Regions from separate parts of the Homo sapiens genome. Here region 2 is linked to region 1. Evidence: promoter capture Hi-C in human tissues and cell types (Jung and others, 2019). All regions are on one chromosome and are shown on one strand. Each heading gives the region's core, a stretch centred on a gene start or on the middle of the fragment in contact. The rest is flanking DNA. Distances are from core to core; before and after follow the strand shown.

The links. The method cuts DNA at HindIII sites, captures the fragments that hold promoters and counts their contacts. A contact is called where the count stands out against the background at its distance.
Region 2: a contact is called between a fragment that was not itself captured here and the fragment with the promoter of PDZD2 in region 1, in 2 of the 25 tissues and cell types used here (dorsolateral prefrontal cortex and pancreas).

What each region holds. Positions count from the first base shown.
Region 1 is chr5:31,636,111-31,642,257 of GRCh38, forward strand. It overlaps PDZD2 (PDZ domain containing 2), which reads left to right and starts at 3,021. Exons shown (of 25, transcript NM_178140.4): 1 at 3,021-3,327. RefSeq lists a silencer at 2,975-3,324. The HindIII fragment of the contact is 21,895 bases long and covers 1-6,147 here.
Region 2 is chr5:31,680,644-31,686,805 of GRCh38, forward strand. All of the region lies in intron 1 of PDZD2 (PDZ domain containing 2), which reads left to right. Among named protein-coding and RNA genes, the nearest start is that of PDZD2, 45 kb to the left of the region's middle. RefSeq lists enhancers at 1-101, 102-619. The HindIII fragment of the contact is 4,329 bases long and covers 601-4,929 here.

The DNA of each region.
Region 1 (6,147 bases), core at 1,771-4,270:
CGCCCCTCTCGGCCTTCCAAAGTGCTGGGATTACAGGCATGAGCCAGGGCACTTGGCCTCATTTGTTCTTTTTAAGCCCCTTTCTTGGCCAGGAGATGGCTCGTTCTAGCGTGAGGTCATGAATGGAAGAGTTAGTGGCCAGGAATTTGTGGAAGAAAGAAAAAAGGGTAATTCGCTAGGTAAACAGGAAGCTAGAATCTGTTTTGGAGATAAAATGAACCCACAGAGGCTGGGAGGAGAAAGGGAATTGAGCCAGTTGTTGACTAAGGCTACTTCTCCTCCCTTGAAATTTACTTGGAAGAGCAGCTGAGGCGGAAAGATGGAAAGCAGTCTTTTCAAGAGTTGGTAAGCAAACCTCCAGTTTTAGTTTCAGCTGCCTGGTCTGTAGATTTTTCTTCATAGAGGGAGAAAGCTCAGAAGTAAACCACATGGCACTGCAATCCATGAGAATCTACTTGGACTCACCTAAACCACGCTACATTCTGTCACTGATATAGCTTGGGATCACACATTTTTTCTTTGTTTATCATTTTAATCTTCCTTTGCTCTGAAGTCTTAGATATTCTATATACAGCCTCCTCCTCCTCCACATCACATATATTATGAGCACTAAATTAAAATGGCAACTTTGATAGAAATACTAATCTGTGACTAAATGTTTAACAAGGGGGCAAAAAGGATTTACATTTTGATCTTCAAACATTGGAAAATAAATGCCCTCAGTTGTCAGCTTTCCAAATTGACAAGACTGCAAGGGCAAAACAAAATTTCCATGCATTTGATTGACCTCTGTGAATTGAGCTATTATTAGCAGATAAGAACTTGCCAAAAATATCTGGAAAATATCAGCTGAAAAGTGATTGAAACGAAGTATTTAAAGCAGGTCAGCAGGGCCATGTCTGAAGGAGACAGATTATAAAATACATCTGTATATATTGTATTTATACATAATATATGCCACATATAACATACATGTATATACCTAACAATTCATTTTAATTCAGCAAATATTTATTGAGTGGCTATTGGGTCGGACACCATGCCACCCTAGGCTTTGGGAACACAAACAATAAGCTTTAAGTTCTCTTACCTCCAAGAACTCACAAGCTAGAAATATGTGAGACAAAACGCCATAATTCCTACAACATAATACACCTGACAAGGGTTAGATGAGCAATTTGCATAAAGTGCTACCATTGCAGCAATTAACAAGGCAGAGGAAACGTGATGTTTGTTCTGATGATCAGAGAAGCCTTTCCAGTAGAGATGACATTTACCTCCTTGGGATTTCAGCAGACACAGGAGAGTGAGAATGTCACTCTGGCAGAGGAAACAGAATTTACAGATTAGGAGTACATGGCTGGAATGAAAGAGTTGGGGATGGAGTGGATAAGAAATAGCAGTGACTACAGTTTGAGTGATACATTTATTTGCATATTCATTGATTCAGCAAACTTTTCATTGGTGCTGAGGGAGGTAGGCCCAAGGTATGTGCTGGGTACAGAGGCTGAGAAAACACGGGACAGAGTGGTGGAAGATGGGCCTGGGATTGTGGAAAAAACAGAAAGCACCAGCCCTGTTTGATCCTTCTAGAAGGATTTTTTTGTAGTGTCCCAATGATACCTTTCATTGATAATGGTTACCATTTCATTGAGCACCTCCTAAGTGCTGTGCTGAATAGCTGTGTTACTGCTAGTTCCAGCAATCCTGCATGGTAGGTGTTTTCTCTATTTACACATAGGAAGAGAAGCTCTGAGTGCCTGAGTGCCCAGCTTGTCATATACGATGCTTGGATTTGTGCAAGCATTGATCTCAATGGCCTGGTAATTATAAAAGCTGAAGAACAGCTGAAATCAAGAACTTCTCCACCCCAGCCCCTGAGGACAATACCACCTCCAAATGCCTTGGGCCCACTCTGGTCTCTGGTGTGGTGGGACAGCGCTGTCCGGTCTGCGCAGGTGATTTATGTCTGCCTGCTTTTCGGAGAGGCCAGAGTTTATTGCCTTGCTGGGCAGAACTGCAGCTGGGGCCTGCCCTGTCCCATCCCCATCCCCCCGAAAGCAAAGATTTCCAATTACTGTTCTGTAGAAAATGTCAAAAGCATTATTCAACTATTCATTATCCCAGGTTTTGCAATTTTTCATATGTTTTTACTCTTATCTGCCAGCACTTGAAAAAGACCAGCTTTTTCCTCTTAAGAGAGCTTAATTTGCAGAGCTGTGCAGTCTTCCTATTATGTTCTTATCATCCTCTCCCTTTGGTAGGCAGAATGACAAGGATGACAAAAAAAGAACCAAAAATATTTGAAGGCCTTCCTGAAAATCCACCGGAATGAAGGATCCCAAAAGCCTGAGGCTCGGTTCCTCGAGTGACCTGGACGGGAGCCAAGGGCGGCTGGCATTAGCTCTCACAGTCCACTCGGCAGGAGCTCGTGGCTAGTGCTCATGGGACCAAAACCACCACCCCAGGGCCATGGGATTCCCCCCCAGGGGCTTAACTGGGGGATTAAGCAGCTCTGAGGTGCCAAGAGGTCCCCTCTCCCCGAAATCCTCGTACCAGTGCTAAATTACCTTTGGTATCCCAAGGACCAGAGGCTAAGGGTAGCTTGGGGTGAGTGGTTAGCTCTTCCCCCATCTCCTGTGGCCCCTCCGCCCCATTCTTTGATAAGGTAACTGACATTTTTCTCTTTGCTGTGTAAAGTGCTATGCAGAGGCAACTTCACGTCCCCTAGCTCGCTCTGTTCCACCTAGATGGCGCCCTAAGCCCCGCCTGTATGGAGATTCGGAGCAGCCATCTCCCTGGATGCCTTCCTCCCACGATCCCCAGGTTTCTGAAGCGGGCGCACCAGGACTCCTGGCTCACCCAGAGAGACGCCTTGCCCGCGGCGGGGCTCGCTCGGGGAAATCCCCGCCCACCTTGTTATTCCTGCAGGGGAATCCCCGCCCCCCGTCCCTGTCACTCGGGGAAGGGAGTTCCCGCCCCTCGAATCAACCAGGGGGAGGGAATCCCCGCCCATCCTGGAGGCTCGGCGGATCCCCTGCGCAGCGAGGCGAGGAGCGGACCCCAGCGCCGGTGCGTGCCGGCCCCGGGCAGCGGGACGCGGCGGGGCGGCGGCTGCAGGCAGCCGAGGAGCCGCAGGCCGAACCCAAGGCACCGGGATTGCGCCTCCCGCGGCTGCCGGCGAACCGCGGCTCTGCAGCTCGGGGCAGGCGCGGCGGCGGCACCGGTGGTGGCCGCGGTGGCGGCAGCTGCGCGGGGACCCGCCGGGCGGCGCCTGGGTCTGGACGCGCGAGGAAGCCGCGGGAGCCTCGGCCAAGCCGCGAGCAGGTGAAGCGACCGTCCCGCTGCAGCCGGGACGCGCGGCTCCGGGTGGGCAGGGGATGGGGGAGGCCCGGCACCCCCGAGACCGTGTGTGCCCAGGAAAGTTTAGCTACAAATCCGGGTGCGGGAATCCCAGCCCTGGCAGGGCGGGGAGTGAGGACGCCGAACCGGGGTCCCACGTTGGGCGGCGCAAACTCCTCTAGCATCCGGCCGGGGACGGGGAGGGCGCAGCCCAGGGGAGGGGGCTAGACAGAGCGGGACCGAGACAGCGGGACAACCGGAGACGCACTGCCGGGGGTACTCAAGACAGGGCCGGGACCTCCTGCTCGGGCGCGCATCCCGGGTCCCCATCCCTGGGCCGTCTTCTGGTCCCTTCCTCCGACAGGAGTGGAGGTACTCAGGTACTCCGGCCTCAGGTAATGTCTTGGGGACCATCCTCCCTCGGGCTTGTTTCATCTCTCAACCCCCGCCTCTTTGCCCAGATGAGACGTTAGACGCGGGGCGAGGGAATGCAGGGGGCGCGCAAAGATCAAGGGCATCTTAGGGCCGGTTATTGGCGTCTGCCGGGGAGATGGGGAACATAGTGATAGGGAAATCCTGCTCTCTCTCTGAAGTCGAGTTTCTCCTAAAATCTGGTTTCTCCCTCCCTCTGTTCCTCTCTCCCTCCCTCGGGTTTGCGTTTGTGTTTTAAGTCTTTGAGCTGCCTGTGGTCCCCGCTATTTGGAAAATCCATTAAAGCGCAAGGCTGAATTCAGCAGCAGGAGGGTCCAGGACCCCTGGCAGGAGTTTGCCAGAAGCTGTCCTCGGCAGCCCAAATCTATGCAGAGACCTTGATAAGGGACACTGGAGTGGGAAGAGGACAAGGTCTGGCATGGGCTGGTCGCAGAGACTGGAATGGCAGGCACGAGGGCATTCCAGAGCTCCAGACCTGCCCTGGGACTGGCCGTTGGGCAGTGTTGGGGGATGGAGCTGAGTCTGAGTCTGTCCCCTGCAGCTGGCCTAACCTCTTGCCTCCACCAAAGGTAGGGTAGGTGGATATGTTTGCCTTGACAAATCGCAATGAAACTACTGGAAGTGGTTGCTGAGTGGCTGCAGTAAGTGATGCCCTGATCTGTCCTTGCAGAGAGACCCCCTGGACCTTCAGGGCCTGTTCTCCAGTGGGGTCTCTGAACACTGGAGGGCTTTAGGGGCCTGGCATCTCTACTGGGCCAGCTTTTGTGGGTTGTGACTTCTGGGTGGTGGCCAGATAGGTACAGGTTGGCAGGTGTGAAGTGGGAGTGCTGCTTGTGGGGGCAGAAGAGAATGTCTCAGAACACACCCCTGGCTGTAGGTGGTGGTTCTGGCTTCATGAATTCCTTCTTCCATTAGGATGGGCCCAGAGCTTCTGCTCCTATAATAACCACCTAGTTGTGTGAGTGAGTGTGTGTGTTGCGGGGGTTAGGTGTAGGAGTAGGGGGGTGGCAGGTGCTAGGAGAGGAAAAATCAGAACCATGTAAAGTATATAAATGTACCTACCTTGACATAGTTAATATGCTCCTGGAAAAATATTGAATTATACTTTAAATCTATCGCTGAAATTGATTTTGCATGTACTTTATGGCAGTTTACTATTTAAGGAAACTTATGATAATTTCTCTGTTCATTTCAATCATTTTATTTTTGGAATACCTGTGGTTTGCTGTGCTGGAGGCTGAGGAGGCTTCGAGGTTCCAGGATATGCTTAGATGAAAGATGCTCCCTCGCTGCTGTCAGTTTGTCAGTTTCTGTCCAGCAGGAGAAGGGAGAGAAGCCTGCTAAGCACTATGGTGCAGACCAGTGCACATGCTGCATGTAGTAGACGCCATGTGTTTATTGGATGAAGGAGTGAAGAGATAATTAAGTGAGTAAAGTACCTGAAGAGTGGTCCAAATAAAACATTTTGGGAGTATGGAGGAAAAAGAAGTCACTTTTGCCAGAGAGGATCTGAAAGGCTTTGTGGAGGAGCTCTTAGGTAGAAGTCGAGAGGTTGATCCTGAGTTAGGACTCAGTGCTAAGGACTCAGAGGAACTAAGGACTCAGAGGAACTAAGGACTCAGAGGAACTTAGTTCTCCAGATAGTAGGGAGATGTGTGAGATATTTTTTTTTTTTGAGACTGGGTCTCATTGTTGCCCAGACTCAAGCAATCCTCCCACCTCAGCCTCCTGAGTAACTGGGATCACAGGTGTGTGTTACCACAACCAGATAATTTTTGTGTTTTTTGTGGAGATGGGTTTCACCATGTTGCTTATGCTGGTCTCGAACTCCTGGGCTCAAGTGATCCTGGTGTCTTGGTCTCCCAACGTGCTGGAATTAGAGGCATGAGTCACTGCGCCCAACCTGGCCCCTCGTTCTGCTCCTACACAACCCTTTAGCACACTCACCATGCTGCCCTGGGTGTGTTTCTTTAGGGCCTTATTTTTTTCATACCCAGATAAGGCCTGGAACAGTTGCTAATCAACTTCCTCAGGTTAGACAGGAAAAGAGGCAGAGGGAACACCCCAGACCCCACTACCCCCGGCTGATCATACTGTAGGGTGTTGTGGAAACCCTCTCCCAGAGGCTCCAGGCCTGGTGAGCTGAACAAGATAACACAGAGCTGTGGATACCCCCTTGCCTTTGATCATGTGGGCCTAAGTGACTCGGACCATGGTGGTGGGGGCATCTCTGTTGGAAGGTCTCTCCTACTGCACCATCCACAAGGGGACAAATTCCAAAGATGAACCCACAAAAGGTCAGGAGCAAATCCAAAGAGAGGCTGAATCTCTTTAAGAAGACAGACTTAGAGACTCAAGTTTTCAGCTTCTTTC
Region 2 (6,162 bases), core at 1,515-4,014, 44 kb after region 1:
TTTCAGGCAGCCAGAAACAGGCTTGTTGTGGCTCTGCAGCCAGACCTGCCAGCCTTCTCGTCAGGACGTGCGAGCTTAATTATTCCACTGCCCTCTGGAAATGATGCCGGCTTGTCCTTGAAATCCCTGACCGGGCGCCAGGCCCTGCTGGATTTGTAGATGCTTCCTGTTGTGGGTGCACGGAACCTCTGCCCAGCCCAGCAGCTTTTTCCCTGCAGCTCTGAGAGATGCCTGCCCCACAGCAACGGCCGCAGATCTAGCTTGTGCTTCCCTATACGGCCTTGCCCCTCGGACAATTGCTGACTGTGGACACCCATTCTGGGGACTGGCCAGATCTGAATTCCTTCCCAAGATCCCCCCACCTACCCCCACCCAACTTTCTTGTCCTCAAGTCAACACCTGTAAAATAATTCCCACCATATATGCAAATAATTTTGCTTTTTCCATGAATGGAGACCATTGCCAGATATCACTAAATGCTTCTGAATATGGGGCTGCAACTTGGATGGAAAATTACTGTTTTTTTCTTTCAACATGTAATGAACATTAAAGGCTTATGACTGTTGATTCATCAATACTTATAACATGTTTTATTTGTTTTTGTTTTTACTTTGTTTTGTTGAGACAGAGTCTCACCTTGTTGTCCTGGCTGGAGTCCAGTGGCACAATCTCGGCTCACTGCAACCCCCGCCTCCCAGGTTCAAGCAATTCTCATGCCTCAGCTTCCCGAGCAGCTGGGATTACAGGCATGTGTCACCATACCCAGCTAATTCTTTGTATTTTTAGTAGAGACGAGGTTTCGCCATGTTGGTCTGGCTGGTCTTGAACTCCTGACCTCAAGTAATCCACCAACCTCGGCCTCTCAAAGTGCTAGGATTACAGGCGTGAGCCTATACATATGTATAGGTTCCTCATATACATATACACATTATATATGTATAATATAATATATATAATATGTGCGTATGTGTCTATGTCTATCTTCCTGTCAACACCTCTCCTACCATATTGGATCACAAAATGCTATGTGGAAGAGTTTTCGAAACTATAAAACTTCTCAAAAGTTAGTTCTTATAATAAAAAGTTTACCTTAAGACAAGTTAAATGAGAGTTTGAAGATACTGACAAGCTGATTTTAGCAACTGTGTTTGCTCTCAGGGCATGTGATGCTTTTGGTGACCATAGAGACTCCATTTAAATACCCCCAGCTCCCTTGAGCTAGTTTCTCCTAAGAAAGGAATAATACGTTTAAAAGAAGGAATGCTGGAGAGGAGTTTACTCCAACTAAATATATTGTAGTGGCATAGCTTAGATTCCTTACCAGAAGCGGAAAATGCATAGTATAGGACCAAAAGAGGGCTGTAATTTTTTTTGGAACATCGCATTCTTTCTTCTCCCTAAGACGCATAGATAGATATAATTATATGATTGGAAAATTAGACCCAAGTGGCGAGTTTAAAGGAACTGGGGCTGGTTAAACTAGAGGCGAGAGCGAGGGTAGCAATGATGGTCTGAAGCAGCTGCTGTGTGTTTCCTGGAGGACCCACGGGGAGGGGGAGAGCTACTACACAAGCTTCGCAGAGGGGCTTAGGCAGGGGTCAGTGTTTGAATTGGACACTCTCGTGTCTGTGGTCTGTTTTAAGTTTGGGTGTGCAAGGCCAATATGAACAGTTTTCTTTCTTTCAAGTCCGTGGTTAGGGCAAACTGTCCCCCGGGAGAATGTCGGTGCCTTAGTTGATAGCTTTGTGTTTCCGGAAGCCTGGCTTCCAATAAAGGTGGTTAATTGGGAGAAGTGGAATGGTACATTCTTGCTTTCCAATTAAGAACAAGGCTTCATTACAACAAATAAGGCCAGCACAATCCAATACTATTAACTTTGTATTTAAATAAGAGTGTAATTTTAAAGGTTAAAGAAATGTGAAAATAAGCACTAATCCCCATTTAAAGTTCTTAATAATGGTTTAATTGAACTCTGTTAATTTTCTCCTCCAAGATTAAATAGAACTAGCGCATTCTCAGTCTTTCGGCTGTGTGTGTGTGTGTGTGTGTGTGTGTGTGTGTGTGTGTGTGTGTGTGTACATGGTTTACACATTTTGGGATTTCAGGACAGCTAACCCTCAAAAGCCCTGCAGGTGAATTTTTACGTAGACCAAGACGCTCCATTTCCACCACAAGCTACCTTGTACCTTTTGTATCCTCCACCCCTCCCTTTCCCCTGACTTTCCAGCCATAAGCTTACGCAGAAAGACCCCTTCTCCCGATCATGGGGAGTGTGCACACCAGCTGTGTGAACCCCGTGACACTCTCACCGCCCCCAAGTCAGATGGGAGTCATTTTTCTCTGGACCTGACCAGTACTCTGACTTTATCTCTTTGAGGCCATCTCCCCCTGACCCCTGCCATCTGGTGTTTGCTAGTAATTTGCATTCGGCCCTTAAGTTTTGCTCATTAAACACCCTCCTTGGCAGCTCTGTGGCTCCCCTGCAACTTTTACAGCTTGGCTTTGGGTACAGGCTGCTTCCAACAGAGCCTGAAGGTACAAAATCTCAGTGAGATCAGAATGTTAAAAAAAAAAAAAAAAAAGAAAGAAAGAAAAGAAAACGAATTAGAAAAGAAGGTCATAAGATTGTCCTGTAGATTTAAAGTGATTTGTCCACAGTCTTAGTGGGGATGTGGGATCATATTCTTTGAAGTTTTATTTTCTAGTAATATTTGTAAGGGTGCTTTAAAAAAATACATTCCAAGAAGTATAAAGAAAACAAAAAGGTGACCCATAATTTCACCGTTCAAATAGTCCCTACTGGTTTTTTTAAATGGAAAATATGTACATGGTTACAAAATTCAAACTACTTTGGGAATGATAAAAGATGAAAATCAAAAGACTTTGTACATGGACACTCATACATTTACATAGAAGGATAATAAAGCACAAGAAGTTCTGTTTGCTAATTTTTCACATAACGTGCCTGGGAGATAGTTTGATATCAGCTCATAAAGGTTTCCTGCATTTTTTGTATCCTCTGCAAAGTAGTCTGTCTTATGGACGTTTGATAATTTATTTAACCAGTCTGCTGTTGAGGCAGGCTTTGCTTGTTTCTAATTTTTTACTGCAAAGAGTCTGCAGCGGACATCCTTGTACCTACATCCCAGGAAATTCTCGTATGTATATCTGTTGAATAAATTAATCCAAGTAGTAGGATTACTGGAACAAAGTCAATATGTATTTTAAATTTGATACCCAGTGCCATATTGTCCCTAAGAAAGGTTGCACAAATTTACACTCCCACCAAGAGTGTGGGAGAGCCATTTGCCACATAGACTCACCAGTATTTTTTTTTTAATTTTTGATCCATTTGGAAGTTATTTGGGAACTTGAGTGTTTTTCCCCAAAAGCAAAGGCAATTGCCTCAACACCAGTTATCAAAGGATCCCTACAGATCTATTTTCCCTGTAGATCTGAAATGCTGTCTTCATTGTATCTTTTGCTGATGCCCCCGTACAAATTTACAGGTGAGCTCCATCCTCCTGTAGCAGCCACCTGCCTACTGACAGTCCTACTTGGGTGTCTGATAGGTGTCTCAAGTGATGGATGGATATGACAGTAGAGTCCTTGATTTACTGTCCCATGGCCCCTGCTCATCTTCTCTTTCTTGATTGATGGTGCCATCATCTACCCAGTTACTTTGACCAAAGCAATGGGAGTCATCCTGGATTCCTTTCTTTTTCTCCACTTCTAAGCCATCAGTATACTGGCACTGTGTTAAAGCCATATTTCAAACCAGACCACTTGTCACCATTCCTGTCACTTCTACCTCTTTTATCCCAACATCACCTCTTGGGTAGACCATTGCAAACTGGAAGTGCATTTCCAGAATATTCTTGTTGGTATAGAACCCTCTGTCTACATAGTAGCTAGAGCAGTTTTTTTTTTTTTTAGATGTTAAACAGATACATCGCTCTGCAAACTAAAACCCTTTAAAGTGTTTTCCATCTCAATTAGAATAGAATTCATAGTCCTCACCAGCCACTGCAAGGTTTATATAATCTAGCCCCTGCCTATCTTCCTTGCCTCTTCTCTGTTACCCACAACCTGCTTTTTGTTTCGTGATGTGTGAACTCATTTCAACCTTAGGGTCTTGCTCTTGCCTCTTCCTTTGCCTAGAATGCTTTTCCCTTGTCCTAGATCATCTGTGTTATGCTAGTTTTTAGGTCTCAACTCATGTCACCCCCGTTGCCCTTTATCTCATTGTCTTGCTTTATTTTCTCTAAAACACTTGGCACTATGTAGATGTTCTTATTTATTTACTTATTTAAGGGTAGAATCTTTATCTGTTTTGCTTGGTGCCAATTATTCAACATGTTGAATAGTGCCTGGCACCTAGCAGGCACTGGAGCCTATTTCTGGAATTTCATGTTGCACCATTGCCCTCTCTGTTTGTTCTCCATTACTAAATTCCTTTCATTATTGTAGCTTTATAAGTTTCAATGCTTGTAAGAGCAGGCGTTCTCTGCCCTACCCGCTTGACCCCCTTCTCTTTCCTAATTTTGCTGGCTATTATGGTTATTTTTCCAGAGGAGCTTTCTAAAAATACTCCTTGTTGGTATTTTAATTGGGTTTACATTGAGTTTATAGATTAATTTGAAGTAAAAAAAAAATCATTGAACCTTTTTATTTAAAAGCAAGCTAGACTTTTCTCTTAACATTTTCTTCCAGTTCCTCAACAGGTTTTTTAAAAGAACTTTGTAATATGGAAAACTGAGAACATACACAAAAGTTGTGAAAAGAGTAAAATGAACCTTCTTGTATCTATCACACAGCTTCTACACCATCAGCCCATGCTGCCTCGTCCGCATGCATACCCACTACCCTTCGCATTTATTTTATTATTATTATTTTTTGAGACAGGGTCTTACTCTGTCGCCCAGGCTGGAGTGCAATGGTGTTTTCTCAGCTCACTGCAACCTCTGCCTCCTGGGCTGAAGCATTCCTCCCACCTTAGCCTTCCGAGTAGCTGGGACTTCAGATGTGCACCACCATGCCTGGCTAATTTTTGTATTTTTTGTAAAAACGAGGTTTCACCATGTTGCCAAGGCTGGTCTCAAACTCCTGGGATCAAGCAATCCACCTGCCTTGGCTTCCCACAGTGGGATTACAGGTGTGAGTCACCGCACCCAGCCCATATTATTTTCAAACAAATCCCAGACATCGTCATTTATCTGTCAGTGTTTTTACTATGTATTTATGAAAGATGAAGACTTTTAAAAAATAGCCATAAGGTCAGGTGCAGTGGCTCACACCTGTAATCCCAGCACTTTGGGAGGCCAAGGTGGGCGGATCACAGGTCAGGAGTTCGAGATCAGCCTGGCCAACATGGTGAAACCCTGTCTCTAATAAAAATACAAAAATCAGCCAGGTATGGTCCCAGCTACCCTACTACCCTACCCTACTACCCAGGTAGTAGTCCCAGCTACTCGGGAGGCTGAGGCAGGAGAATCACTTGAACCTGGGAGGCAGAGGTTGCAGTGAGCCGAGATTGTGCCACTGTACTCTAGCCTGGGCGACAGAGCGAGTCTCCGTCTCAAAAAAAAAAATAGCCATAATACCATTATAATACAAAAATTTCATATTTCTTCATTGATAGTTTTTAAGTTATTTTCTAATAGGTTAGGCATGTTTCTTATTGAATATCTATATACATATTTTAATATATAAAAAAAGTTTTCTTTTTTTTTTCTTTCTGAGACGGAGTCTCACTCTGTTGCCCAGGCTGGAGGGCAATGGCGTGATCTTGGCTCACTGCAACCTCCACCTCCAGGTTCAAGCGATTCTCCTGCCACAGCCTTCCAGGTAGCTGGGATTACAGGCACCCACCACCACACCTGGCTGAATTTTTTTGTATTTTTAGTAGAGACAGGGTTTCGCCATGTTGGCCAGGCTAGTCTCGAACTCCTGACCTCTAGTCATCCGCCTGCCTCGGCCTCCCAAAGTGCTGGGATTACAGGCGTGAGCCACCGTGCCTGGCCAATATATATATTTCTTACCGAATATCCATATATCAAAGTTTTGATGTATCTATGTATCAAATCTTTTACAATATTTTTAGTTTCTATTGAAAATAGGGATATGGTTTTCCATTATATTTTTCAAACTTATTTTTGCATA